Linked DNA regions of Homo sapiens: regions 1 and 3 are each linked to region 2. Evidence: promoter capture Hi-C in 16 types of primary human blood cells and fetal thymus (Javierre and others, 2016). All regions are on one chromosome and are shown on one strand. Each heading gives the region's core, a stretch centred on a gene start or on the middle of the fragment in contact. The rest is flanking DNA. Distances are from core to core; before and after follow the strand shown.

Region 1 (4,571 bases), core at 392-2,891, 210 kb before region 2:
GCTCAGGTGGTAATGCAAAAGATGGGGAGCAGCCGTAAACACAGATGAAGTTTCGCTTGCCCACCTCTCACCTCCTGCTGTGCAGTCTGGTTCCTAACAGGACCCGGACAGGTACTGGCCCATGGCCTGGGTGGCGGGGGCCCTGTCCTGAGGGGTTTGTGTGCAGGCTGCCCTGAGTGAGGGGCTCTCTGAATTCATGACTCTGTTCAGTGCTGCTGCTTTTCGGGGGCTTCAAGCCAACCACCCCATTCCCCTCCCCAGTGCTTGCTCTCACCTGGGGTTGGTCTGGGGTTTGGGCTCCAGGAGGCGGCGACACTGAGGCTGTGCCCCTGGTCCTGCTGCAGGGTGGCCCGGCCCCGTCTCCCCACAGGCAGCTCCAGCCGCCCCACCCTGAGGTCCCCCTTCCCGGCCGCGTGGAAGCTGAGCCTTGTCACCCCCACCCAGTGCTGGTTTGGAGACCTCTGCCTTGCTTCTTGCTGTGCCGTTTAATTTGTGGTATTTCATCTGTCATTGCTGTTTGTTCTCATAGTACCAACTTGAACAGAAGTCAAAGATGAGCATTTTCTATTTTCTTTTTTTTTTGAGATGGAGTCTGGCTCTGTCACCCAGGCTGGAGTGCAATGGTGCGATCTTGGCTCACTGCAACCTCCACCTCCTGAGTTGAAGCGATTCTCTTGCCTCAGCCTCCTGAGTAGCTGGAACTACAGGCGCGCACCACCATGTCCAGCTAATTTTTTTATTTTTAGTAGAGACAGGGTCACCATTTTGGCCAGGATGGTTTCTATCTCTTGACTTTGTGATCCACCTGCCTCAGCCTCCCAAAGTGCTGGGATTACAGGCGTGAGCCACCGTGCCCGGCCACGTTTTCTGCTTTTTTTCTATAAAACAAGCCACCATCAAACTTAAATACAGTCGTCCCTTGGTATCTGTGGGGTTTGGTTCCAGGAATCCTCCTCCTCTAGGATACCAAAATCCTCAAATGCTCAAGTCTCTGATAAAAAAAGGCATAGTATTTGCACATGACCCACACACATCTTCCGGCACACCTTAAACTGTCTCTAGATTACGTTTAACGCTAAATGTAACATCCACACGACGCTTCCTTCACGTGGGTTCAACGTTGTTTTAAGGCAGAACGCAACGTCCACACGACGCTTCCTTCACGAGGGTCCAATGTTGTTTTAAGGCCGAATGCAATGTGTACATGATGCTTTCTTCATGCGGGTTCAACGTTGTACTTGGTGCCCAACAAATTCAAGCTTTGCTTTTTGGAACTGTGGAATTCTGCCCCCCAATACATACATATTTATATATGCAAATGTAAGTACAAATTTGTATTTGTATGTATAAATGCACAAACATGTATATATGTAGCCATACACACACACACACACACACACACACACCCCTACTTTTAAAGACAAGGTTTTGGTCTGTTGCCCAGGCTGGGCTCAAGCGATCCTCCTGCCTCAGCTTCCTGAGTAGCTGGGACTACAGGTGTGTGCCACCAGCCCTGGCTAATTTTTAAATTTTTTGTTGAGATCGGGGTATGGCTATGTTGCCCAGGCTGGTCTCAAATTCCTGGGCTCAAGCAACCCTCCTGCCTAAAGTGCTGGAATTAAAGGTGTGAACCACCACACCCAGCCCGAGATAGTTTTGATCTGAGTTTGGGTGACTCCATGGATGCAAACGGAACCCAGGGACACGGAGGGCTGACTGCATATACACAGGCTGTGAACAACAGAAATGTCCTACCAGGATAAATCCTGATGAGTTTCTCTGGATCCGTCATGCCGCCCGAGGTTTTTAAGAACGTGTTGATAATACGGCATGAGATCAGTCGCGTCATCTTCGAATCCTCCTCCAGGGTGGTCAGGACCTGGGGCATCAGTGTTTCCTGCACGTCCCGTATCTGCAATCAGCAAACACATACGACGTGACTCACATCTGTCCTGGGGTGGGGTGGGGGTGCTCACCATCCGTGCACTCCTGCCTGGAAGGACTTAGGGGGCTTGAAAGCTTTACCTAAAAAGTAGGCTTGAATCTTCATTGTAAAATTTAGATTTTGAGCAATTTTTAACTTGCTTACTTGATTTTTAGAAAATACGCACACTGTTCACAACTCCTAGGTGAGGCACTAACCCTAAACCAGGGTAATGGCTCGCCTGGGCCCCAAGGACGTGGGGCTTTCGGCTGGAGCACCGACCGCACCACCCCGCGTGCACCAGGAGGTGGCGCTGATGCTGCACGGGCGCCCAGGGCAGCGCCTTCCCGCCGGGCGGCGACCAGGACGCGGGCGGGCATCAGTGTCTGTTTTCTGACACCTGGTACCAGCCGGAGGTGTTCATAGAAACGATGCGGAAAGCCCAGGCCCGTCCTCTGGCCTGGATCCTGGGATTCGACTCCTGGTCTTGCAGCCAGCATTGGGCCGGAAACCGAGAAACCGCACGCTCATGAGCGGCTGCAAAACCCGCAGCACGACCGGGCTGGCTGGGCCCGCGGCCTGGCTCCCGCTCTCCCGCCTGCTGTCTGAACCGCAGCCCGGCCGCCGGCTCCTGCCCTTCCGCCGCCAGTGTGGGGAGAGCCTCTTGGGGTACGGGCCCCAGGTGGAGGTGCAGCTGCTGCCTGCCCAAGTTCCTGCTGCGGGAGCTCTGCCGGGCGCCAGGAAGCCTGCGCAGTCCCCGGCCGGTGTCCACCGAGCACGCAGGGAGCCCCGTACCTGCTCTGCCGACAGGACCTCGCTGCTGGTGAGCGCCCAGAGGCAGGACACGGCAGCCGTGCGGATGGCCGCGGCTGTCCTCCCCGCATGCCACTGCAGATTGGGGGCCAGGATGTCCTTTGTCACCGTCTCGAGGTAGCTGGGAAACTGCCTGGAACCGGAACGGAGAGGGTGGATGAGGAGACCGGACAGGTGCTCGGAAGAAACGTTTCAGACTAGGGATGAATGGGGCTGAGGGGGGAGCCAAACAGGAAAACGAACTCGACCCCAAAACACGAGGCCCCTCCTCCTCTCAGGAGCTGCTTCTCAGTGCGAATTGGGAGGTTCCTCCAGGCCCAACCCTACCGGGGAGACAGGGGTGCCTGTGCCCCTGGCCTCTCCTGCGGCCCGCGTAGGTCCTGTTCTCCAGAGGCGAGCCAGAGGCCCTGGGCCGAGGGTGCACTTTCAGCCCCTCGCCGCTCCTAGCTTCAAAAGGAGGCCTGAGTGACGCCTGGGCTAGGGCAGGTGCGGTGGTGTCGGCAGCACCCAGTGAGCCCCTTTCCCATCTGCATCCCTCCCCCAGAAAAAGGCCAAGTCTCTCCAGCCACAGAACCCTCTGTCCAGCAAGGACAGTCGCTGCGGCTTCACAGAGGCGGGATGGGAGGGCCACAGGCGCGGTCCGGGGACCCAAGGGCCACAGCTCAGAGAGACGGGCAGTTCCCACCCTGTCGGCGACTTCGTCCTGATGGTGACCAGTCAGGTCAAAGTGCCACCAAGACAAACTCAAAGCAAAATGACACACTCATTAGTGACATCCCAACACCACGGTATGTTTCAAAGGTGGCTCTGGTCTCCAAGACCAGCTCCACAGCCCGCAGCCCTCCAGCGTCCGTGAAGCCTGCACAGCGTCCCTTCCTCTTCTGGAGGCGCCACCGGCTTGCTCCTGGCAGGGGCCATGTTGGGACCAGCCAGGTAGATGAGCAGATGTGGAAAGTGACGTTGGTGTGGTGTGATTTACACGCATTCCGCGAGGTTTCTGGCGTGGGTTCGTTTTTAAGCAGAGCTGCCATTTTCGGCACCGTGACTTGCAAGAGGGCTCTCTGGAATGAACGAACCCAGCGCCTGCTCCATGGTCACCACATGAAATGGCCTGGAAGTCCTGGCCTTCAGGGTGTGGGGTCCAAGTGTGGGCCAGGCGTGCCACACGGGCGCCACCTAGGAGTGCTTAGGTTTTTTTAAATTTTTTTTTTTTTTTTTTTAATTTTGGGGTGAAGGATACTCAGCCTGTGTCTGACAGAAGCTCCATCAGAACTTCTGGGCATTGATCAGAACCACCATCGAACCACTGAATGAGGCACGTTCCTTTTTTTTGAGACAAAGTCTCGCTCTTGCTGCCCAGGCTGGAGTGAAATGGCGCAATCTCCGCTCACTGCAACCTCTGCCTCCCAGGTTCAAGTGATTCTCCTGCCTCAGCCTCCTGAGTAGCTGGGATCACAGGCACTTGCCACCATGCACTGGGGCCGGGTACAGCCAGGCCTGCAGGACCCCAAGACACTATAGTCCACGGGCAGCAGGGCTGGGCACAGCCAGACCCACAGGACCCGAAGACGCTGCAGAGCCGGGGAACGAGGGGCCCAGCGGCTGGTGCTCCGGGTTCCCTGCCCGAGCACATTCCTATTCACAGAGGGACTCGAGGTCCACTGTGGGGCTTGACTTCCAGAAACGGTGCAGCCTCAAAGCCAGGAGCCTCTTGCCCTGAACTCGCAGCCACTTCTCTGGAGCTTCTGTCAGACGCAGGCTGAGCATCCTTCACTTCAGAATGCAAAGTGCTCCAGGGTCTGACCATATCTGAGCACTGACATGATGCTCAAAT
Region 2 (4,488 bases), core at 127-2,626:
GAGGGTTTTTAGGCTCATTGGAAAAGAAAACTGGGGTATCCCGTGGAGGGGGTCCTGGGGCGGACTTGCAGCCTGACCTGGCAGGTGCTCTCAGAGGACCCTCAGGGTGGGGGCCGAGGGCACGGGGCATCAGCTCCGGGTTGGGTCTAGGTGCCTGCCCACCTGCACCTGCCCTGGTGGCTGCCTGGAGGGCTGGGGGCATGTTTGATCCCAGGAAGCAGAAGCCGTGTCAGTTCCGGGCCCAGGCTCTCCTGGGATGAGAGGTGCTGGTGTGTGGAAGGGTTGGGGTTGCTGTGAAGTCACAGTGGAGATTTCATCAGCGCCCGTTAGGTTTCTGGTGTCCAGCACCCTGGTCAGTACCTGGAAGGACTCAATGTCTGTTCATCCAAAGATTGAGACTTGGCTGAGAAAGCAACAGCTGAAATGGCGGGCGAGGGTCAGGGCATCTCTGCTGGTGTCTGGGCATCTCAGCTGGGGTCAGGACATCCTGGCCGGGGGTCAGCATGGTGGAGGGAGTCATGGTTGGGGGGCATGGACCCCATGGCCTTGCAAAGAAGATCCAGGGAGGAAGAGAACAGCTGGAGGGAAGATGAAATGCTGCTGGCCGCAAAGCTATGATGGGCAGATTGGTTGTGATCTGTGTGTGACAGAGACCCTTTAAGAGCTCTTTCTGGAACCTGGTGTGACCAGGCAGATGGAGGGGCAGTAATGGAGGAAAGGGTGTGAGAGGCCCTGGAGGCCGGGGCTTGGCCCACCTGCAGGTGATGAGTGCAGGCCTGGTGGAGAGGGCTGGAAGGGACGCGTTCCAGGCTCTGCAGGGGGCAGAATCCTCAGTGCTGGTGACCCCTGGTTGGGAGGTGAGGCCGAGGGAGGTGTCTGCCGTCGTCTGGGAGGAGTCCTGTGGACAGAGATGCCTAATGGGGGCAGACGAGGAGTTGGGCTGGGCCTGTGGAGCTGGAGGCGACAGGGCCCTCACTGGGACGCTTGGGGTTGAAGCCACACAAACCACAGGCAGTGAGCACTCCCACCCACCCACCCTGAGAGGTGCCTGGGGCTGGAGCAGGAATGGCTGCCCCCACCTCCCCGCCTGGCAGGCAGCAGGAGCCTCTGTAGCCTGGGGCCTGTGCTCGCCCTGGTTCCCCGGAACCTGCAGAGACTCCCACACAGATGGCCGGGAGTAACTGGGCCACAGAAGGGCATTGAGGGCAAGGCCCGGGCAGCCACATGCCCCTTTCCTTCCACGCTTCTCACCTAACCGTGGTTGCTGGCGCAGCCACAGGCATCTCGTCACCCCCACCCCCCGGCCGCGCCGGGAGCACCCACCGGAGCTTCCATGGCAGCTGCGTAGGTCCCGGGACGGACAGTGCCTGGCTGCAGAGACAACCGAGGGGATAACTGGGTTTGCAGAAGGAAAGGCTCGTCTCACACGGGGCCAGGCCTGCCTCACTCTGGCATGCAGGCGGGGGCGGACGCAGCCCCGCACCTGTTCCCACCCCAAGCCCTGGCGCCGACGTCCGCGGGAACGGCTTGTTTCCCACGGAAGCTGCTGGGCCGTGCCTTTGCCGGGCCCCAGACCTCATGGATGATCCATTAAACGCTGGCACAGGAGCTGACCTTGGGCGGCTCGCCCGCTGAAGTGTGTTTTCGCTGTCGTCCCGAGGACAGTTTGCAGCCCAGGGTGTGTGACGTACATCAGTTCCGTCTCGGCCAGCCGGGCCTGAGGAGCGGGCAGGGGATGATTGCGGGGAAGTGGCTCAGCCTCCCGAAACAAACGGCAGAGGGACAGCTCGGTCACCTCCAAGACACCCGGAGCCTGCACGCAGCTCAGGAGCGCTCCGAGGAGTCACCGCCTGAGGGAGCAGGAAGGGATTTGGGTGGAAGGGAGCTTCAGGTGAAATTGCCTTCCATGTGGAAAAAACAGTTATTGCAACGGTTGCTTAAAAAAACATAAAAATGCATCCATGGGGCTTATTTATTCAGGAGAAATCACAGAGCACCTGGGAGTGCTTTAGAGGCAGGGGCTGCTTGCATCCTCTGTGGATGTGTGTGTGTGTGTGTGCACAGGCGTGTGTGCCTGTGTGTTTGTGCCTAGGTGTGTGCGCACAGGTTTGTGTGCCTGTGTGTGCATGTGTGTGGGGTGTGTGTGCATGTGTGTATGCACGTACCCGTGTGTGTGTGCACAGGTGTGTGTGTGTGTGTGTTTGTGTGCCTGTGTGTGGGGTGTGTGTGCATGTATGCACGTACCAGTGTGTGTGTGCGCAGGTGTTTGCGTGCACAAATATGCATCTGTGTGTATGTGTGTGTGTTCACACGTGTGTGTGTATGTATAGGATTCTGCTTCTGCCTAAGTCCAGAAGCACACAGGCAGGAAATGTGTGCACAGGAAACGTAAAGGCACTGGAGTGAGCCTGAATTTTCCAGGCTCTGAGGAGTCTCACTGGAGGGAGGAACGTGTCGTGGCCCCCGTGGCCCTGAGAAGGCATTTGGTGTCTGTCCACTCTTACGTTCACTCATGGCCGCCGCCCTCATGATGACTGTCCCGTTTGACGTGCTGGAACTCCTGGAGCTGGGGTAATCTGGCCTCACCGCCGCTCTGTAGCATTGGTTGGCGTTGTCCCATATAACAGATGAGGCAGCTGAGGCTGGAGCAGCTATGGGCCTTGCCTGAGACTGGCTGGTGCATTGCAGAGCTGAGGCTGGACCCAGACTCTTCGACTCTTGGTCTGCGGCCCGATTTTGGTGCTGATGACCTGGCCCAAGGTGCAGGACAGGAGCCTCCTCAGTCCCATTTGTTCCTGGCCAGGTCAGGGGGAAGCCTGGGTTAAGCTCGTGTGTTGAACACCTTTCCAGCTGTGCTTAATCTTTTAGTTACTTTTTAATTTATGGAAAGTGATAGCAGTTTCCATTTATGGTCGTGATACAAAGTTTCTTTTAAAATATATTTATTATTATTATTATTATTATTATTATTATTTGTATTAGTTCATTCTAACACTGCTATGAAGAAATGCCCGAGACTGGGTAATTTATAAAGAAAAGAGGTTTAATCGCTTGTGATTCTGCCTGGCTGGGGAGGTCTCAGGAAACTTACAATCATGGTGGAAGGTACCTCTTCACAGGGCAGCAGGAAAGAGAATGAAAGCTGAACAAAGCGGGGAAAGCCCCTTATAAAACCGTCACCCCATGCCATGATTCAGTTACCGCCCCCTGGGTCCCTCCCACAACACGTGGGGATTATGGGAGCTACAACTCAAGATGAGATTTGGGTGGGGACACCGCCAAACCTTGTCATTATTAGAGACAGGGTCCTGCTTTGCTAGCCAGGCTGGTCTCCAACTCCTGGGCTGCAGTGATCCTCCTGCCTCAGCCTCCTGAGTAGCTGGGACCACAGGTACCACCACGTCCAGCTAATTTACTTTTTGTAGAGATGGGGTCTTGCCATGTTGCGCAGGCTGACCTTGAACACCTGGGCTCAAGGAATCTTCCTTCTTTGGCCTCCCAAAGTATTGGGATTACAGGTGTGAGCCACCGTGCCCAGCCTAAAATATTTATTTAAGTAAAATGAATATATTTGTCTCTTGTAGAACTTCACATAAGGGACTTGGGGTGCATGTGCCTTTTCCTGGCCTCCCTGACTCCACAGCGAGCCTCGAGACTCCGGCTCACTGCCTGCACACGCGTGTGGCGTCCCGCATAGGAAGAGATGGGCTTCCTAGTGTGTCTCCTCCCGGGGGGTGTCCAGACGGTCTCTGGTCTGGGCTATGAGCACAGCGGGCCTGGGCTCCGGTGCTTCCCTGGCGTCGGCCCCAGATCGGGGTCCCCTCGTATCGGGGAGCCCTTCCTGCACCACTCGGGGCTCCTGCCGGGCATGGGGAAGTGCGACCACCAGCCCTGAGACGGAGCAGATCCCTTCTGACTGCCCTGAGCCCCCGTCCTGGCCCTGCCCCCTGCTCCAGCCTCTTCTCCCAGCCGTGGCACCAGCCCCTCTCTCGGCCTGGGATGCGGCCCCCACGTCTTCTCCGGCTGGCTCCTCCTGCCCTCGAGGTCTCAGCTCAGAGGCCACTTTGCTGGTGGCTGGGCCTTCACTGGCCGCCCCCTGAACTGATTCTCGGCTCTCCTGGCGTCAGGCACCTGTGGCCTTGTGGGTTGTGTCTGCCTCCCCTCTGGGTGCCGAGTCCTGGTCCGGGCAGGGATGTGGCCTCCTCGTTCACGGCCGTAGTCCTAGCCCTAATGCAGTAGACGAGTGACTGAAGGCGAGCCTGGAAGAATAAACAGAAGGGAGATGCATCGGCAGCTCCGAGGAAGGCAAATGGTCTGTGTCCATGGGAACCTGGCTGGGACGGGGCCGCCGTCCACGCCTGTGGCACCAGGTTCTCCCTGGAGCACTGGACCCAAAGGGAGGGACCCTGTCTCCCCGTCTGCCCCCAGTTCTGTGATCCGACTGACCTCTGAGCCGAAGCGTTGGAGGCTCACGGCCGGGCAAGGGAG
Region 3 (4,525 bases), core at 935-3,434, 230 kb after region 2:
GCTAGAGGGATGAGGCCACGCTGACCCAGTGGGGAGTGGGGAAGGGCAGTGCAGGGAGGACAATGGGGAGTTTGTTCTGAGCATGTCCTGGCTGAGATGCCTGCTGGACTTCAAGCTCAAGAAACCTCTTGGATTTAAATCTAGAGTTGAGAGGAGAGGTTGTCCTTCAGGGGTCCATATGAAAGCTTCAGGTGCTTCCGAGGGATCCTCTGGCATGACAGGTCTGAGCCCGTCTTTCCCTCTCCGGCACTGCAGGGCTCCCGCAGTTCTGCTTAGATTCCTAGCAGCCTCTGCTCAGCCCCTCTGCGCTCACCCTGTGCTGCTTGCAAACAGACACCCTGGACTGTTGGGATCCTTTCCTCTCCCCGGGATCTTGTCTCTCCAAGCCCTGGCTGTGTGAGCAGTCCTGCACTCTGATTCTCGTCTTCCTGCTGGCACGACAGTGTTGAAAGCTCCTCTGAGCTTCTCGGATTCTCAGCAGACCTCCCTGCTCAGCTTCTCAGCATCTCTGCTCATGCCAGTTATGAGTTTGCGGTTGCCCCAAAGGGTGCAGAAGTTCGGGTCACCTCAACGCGTTTCCCTCCCCCACAATGTCTTGGGCCTTCAGGTCCTGGCTGCCTTGGTAACTCTCTGACACATTGAGACACATGTGGTCATTTGTTTTCTCCAACCTGGTTGATGGAAGCCAAAAGTGGACTCCTTTTTATTTTTTTGTTTTTTGACAGGGTCTTTCTCTTTTGCCCAGGCTGGAGTGCAGTGATGCGGTCACAGCTCACTGCAGCCTCAACGTCCTGGGCTGAAGCCATCCTGCCGCCTCAGCCTCTTGAGTATCTGGGAGCACAGGTGTACACCACCATGCCCGGTTAATTTATTTTTGTAGAGACGGTGTCTCGTCATGTTGCCCAGCGTTCCGCCTAGGCCTCCCGAAGTGCTGGGATTGCAGGTGTGAGCCACTGTGCCCAGCCTCCTCGTTTTTCTTACAGTTGTGTTTCACTTTATGGATCTATTATGATTTATATAACAACCTCTTATCAACGGGCTTTTAGGCCATTGTAAATAATGCTGCAGTGAGTAATTTCACACATAGACGGCCTCACCTGTGCGCAATGGTATCTATAGGATAAGCAGAATTGCCGGGCCAAAGGGCAGATGCATTTACATTTTTATTGATGTTGCCAACTTCGTGGCCATAAACGTTGTGCTAACTTGTCCTTTCATCAGCTATGTACGAGAGCGCCTGCTTCCCCACAAGTCTGTCAACATTGAGGGTTGCCTGGCATTTTGCTTTTTGCCAGTCTGACCCGTCATAAAATGGAACCTCCATTTAGTTTCAATTTGTGTTTCCTTGTTACCAGTGTGGTTGGGTGTCTTTCTATGTGTTAAAATGCCAGTTGCCGGCCGGCGCTGTGGCTCACGCCTGTAATCCCAGCACTTTGGGAGGCCAAGACGGGTGGATCACGAGGTTGGGAGATTGAGACCATCCTGGCTAACACGGTGAAACTCCGTCTCTACTAAAAATACAAAATATTAGCCGGGCGTGGTGGCGGGAACATGTAGTCCCAGCTACTCGGGAGGCTGAGGCAGGAGAATGGTGTGAACCCGGGAGGTGGAGCTTGCAGTGAGCCGAGATTGGTCCACTGCCCCCCAGTCTGGGCGACAGAGCGAGACTCTGTCAAAAAAAAAAAAAAAGCCAGTTGCCCATTTAAGTTCTTTACTCATGTTTTGATGAGTTTGCTGGTCTTTATCTCATTGTTTTCAGGAGGGTTTTTTTAAATGTATTTGGGAAAGTAGCATCTTGTCTACCGTATGAGTTGCTAATACCTCTTCCTCAGTTGGTTGGCTATCTGTTAACTTTGGCTTGCAGTATTTTAATATTTTTAAATGTATGTCTTGCATATTTCTTTTCTTTCTTTCTTTTTTTTTAGATGGAGTCTCACTCTGTCTCCAAGGCTGGAGTGCAGTGGCACAACCTCGGCTCACTGCAACCTCCACCTCCCTCATTCAAGTGATTCTCCTGCCTCAGTCTCCCCAGTAGCTGGGATTACAGGCGCATGCCACCACGCCCGGATGATTTTTGTATTTTTAGTAGAGATGGGGTTTCACCATGTTGGCCAGGTTGGTCTTGAACTCCTGACCTCAGGTGATCCGCCTGCCTCGACCTCACAAAGTGCTGGGACTACAGGTGTGAGCCACCACGCCCGACCGATGTCCTGCATATTTCTTATTAGGCTTATTCCTAGAAGTTTGTTGTTTTTGCTACTGCTAAAATATGCTATTTAATGTCATTAACTTTGCTAACTGAGGCCAGAGCTACGGGAAACTAAACGAAGTTAACCAACCAACCGAGCAAATAGCAAGTGCTTACTGAGCCTCTATATCGTCCTCACAATATTGTCGGAATGAAGCTGCCATGTTGGGTGTTGCAGGGACAAGAGAGTAGAAGATTCAATCAATCCTCGCTTTTAAGTTGTTCAAAATTGATTGAAAAAGACATAGAGAGACACAAAGACACAGCCTGGGTGGGGACAGGTGGGCGGCCCCAGGTGAGGGGCAGGCACCGAGGTCATCACGGGCGCTGGCGTTCAGGCCTTCCGGGTGGCAGCAGGGTGGGTTGAAAGGGGACTGTGGCCGACAGGAACATGGGCAGAGGACTGGCCAAGCAATTTCTAAGAGAAAAAAGGAACACCCACGATGAACACAGGAAAAACATACCCTCCTCTCCAGTACTTAAAAAAAAATGACATTTTACTGGCCCAACGAAGTGGCAAAGATTTCCTTCAAGGGTAAAACCTTGGGTAGGAGAGTCTTCAACAGAAACAGAGGCGGAGGGGAATGGCCACCATCCCTCTACGCACCTGTCCGGGCAGCGGGGCAGTGGGCCATGATCCTGAGCGTGTCCTGCGTACCAGGCACCCCGGGCAAGCAACAGAGAACCAGGCAGGTGTGGGAAACCATGTTCTGGCTGGGGAAGCAGACAATACCCAAGTCAGCAAGTGAATATGGGAGCGTGAATTGTGACCAGCATCACCCCACAAGAGGGAATGAACGGGACATTGAGGGAGGGAGTTGTGGGGGACCATGGGGCCGGCGTTTCCCTCACAGAGGGTGATATGAAGGGGAGGTGGCATCTGAGCAGAGAGGTGAAGAATGCAAAGGGGCCGGCCGCGTGGAGACAGCGGGGAGGAGAGGTCCAGGCAGAGAGATTAGAATGAGCCAAGGCTCTGCCTGGGAGCCGTGGCGGGCAGGCGGGCATCTCTCTCTCTCCCCATGGTCTCAGGGCTTCTCCACGTGCGATAGTTTCACAGCACGGTGGCCTCGGAGCATCCAGACGGCTAACTGGACAGCTCGGGGTTGCACGTGCCTGTTCCCAGAGACCAGGCTGACACCGACGCCTCCCGTGACTTCAGACCCCACAAGTCACGCAGATGGTTTCTGCCGTTGCCACAAGCCCACCCTGGAGGCCAGGGCAGGGGCCTGGACCCCACCTTCCTATCAGTCTCTCATAAGAAGAGCCCCTGGCTGGGCTGGGAGATGTCGCTGTGGCCACCATGGGGCAGCCAGTGGGCAGAGTGAAGAGCCAGGCATAGAGGCCGGCAGAGACCCGACAGTGCAGGTGCCTGGCGGGCCGGGATGGGCCAGGTGGACGGGAAGGACAGTGGCTATGAGATTCAAAGCGCCTGCTGAAAGGACTCATCCTGGCTGCCTGTGCGCCAGAGCTGCATGCAAAGGGCAAGGTGGGTGCGGGGAGACTGGGCAGGACCCTGTCTCACAGCTCCTGCTCGGCCCCCTGGCTGAGGTGAGGAGGGCCACACCTGAGGTCCTCCCCTAACAGGGACCACATGTTTCCTCATGCTCTTGGCCAAAATGAGATGACCATCTTGGTGGTGTGTGCGCTGCAAAGTGAGCCTGCCAGGCCAATGGGAATAGATTCAGCAGAATAACACCCAAACGTAATTCAAGCAAAGACAAACATCTCATGTCAGGCTCACGGCATTCAGAGAAACATGGGAGAATTCCTGCCTCCGTGCATGGGCCAATCAGATAGGGCCACTCCTGAGTTGCTCTGTGTTGGGAAATGACCTAATAGCCTTACAGCTTGTTACTGATTAATTTTGTTTGATGTGGGAGGCTGCATGGATTTTTAATAAGGGCTACTTGTAATTGCAAGCCGACTGAAGCTTCCAGAATCATGAAGTGCATTTCAGGGAATTTTGCAAAACACAGGACACAAGGCCTGTGTGCCCAGCACTCCCAGCTGGTAATTACATTCGAGCTGCTGTGTAGAGAGAACCTAGGGGCTCTCGTTAACTAATGACAGGAATTAGGGAGCTATTAGTGCCTGCTGGTGGGACCCGGCTCTTCCCTCATAAATCTCCAGCCCGTTGATATCCTGGCCTCCCAGTGAGTTGGGGTTTTAGTCTGTATATTAGAAAGTGCTGAGAGAGGGGAAACCAAATACAGAGAAAACTTCTAAGTCCCCCAGGCCAAGGGACATGCATGGGCCCCTGACATCTGTGCCAATCTG

Evidence for each region. The method cuts DNA at HindIII sites, captures the fragments that hold promoters and counts their contacts. A CHiCAGO score of 5 or more calls a contact.
Region 1: a fragment that was not itself captured here is called in contact with the fragment with the promoter of PRKAR1B-AS2 in region 2 in 1 of 17 cell types (activated CD4 T cells); the score reaches 5.1 in activated CD4 T cells.
Region 3: a contact is called between a fragment that was not itself captured here and the fragment with the promoter of PRKAR1B-AS2 in region 2, in 1 of 17 cell types (activated CD4 T cells). The highest score is 5.3, in activated CD4 T cells.

What each region holds. Positions count from the first base shown.
Region 1 is chr7:772,347-776,917 of GRCh38, reverse strand. It overlaps DNAAF5 (dynein axonemal assembly factor 5), which reads right to left. Exons shown (of 13, transcript NM_017802.4): 10 at 2,720-2,870; 11 at 1,756-1,912. Among named protein-coding and RNA genes, the nearest start is that of PRKAR1B, 47 kb to the right of the region's middle. The HindIII fragment of the contact is 760 bases long and covers 1,262-2,021 here.
Region 2 is chr7:558,846-563,333 of GRCh38, reverse strand. PRKAR1B-AS2 (PRKAR1B antisense RNA 2) reads right to left here and starts at 1,376. Exons shown (of 2, transcript NR_132384.1): 1 at 1,324-1,376. The region is part of intron 9 of PRKAR1B (protein kinase cAMP-dependent type I regulatory subunit beta); the gene reads left to right. The HindIII fragment of the contact is 11,213 bases long and covers 1-4,488 here.
Region 3 is chr7:326,565-331,089 of GRCh38, reverse strand. It overlaps LOC105375118 (a long non-coding RNA gene), which reads left to right. Exons shown (of 3, transcript XR_926965.4): 3 at 1-1,463. Among named protein-coding and RNA genes, the nearest start is that of FOXL3-OT1, 38 kb to the right of the region's middle. The HindIII fragment of the contact is 3,993 bases long and covers 188-4,180 here.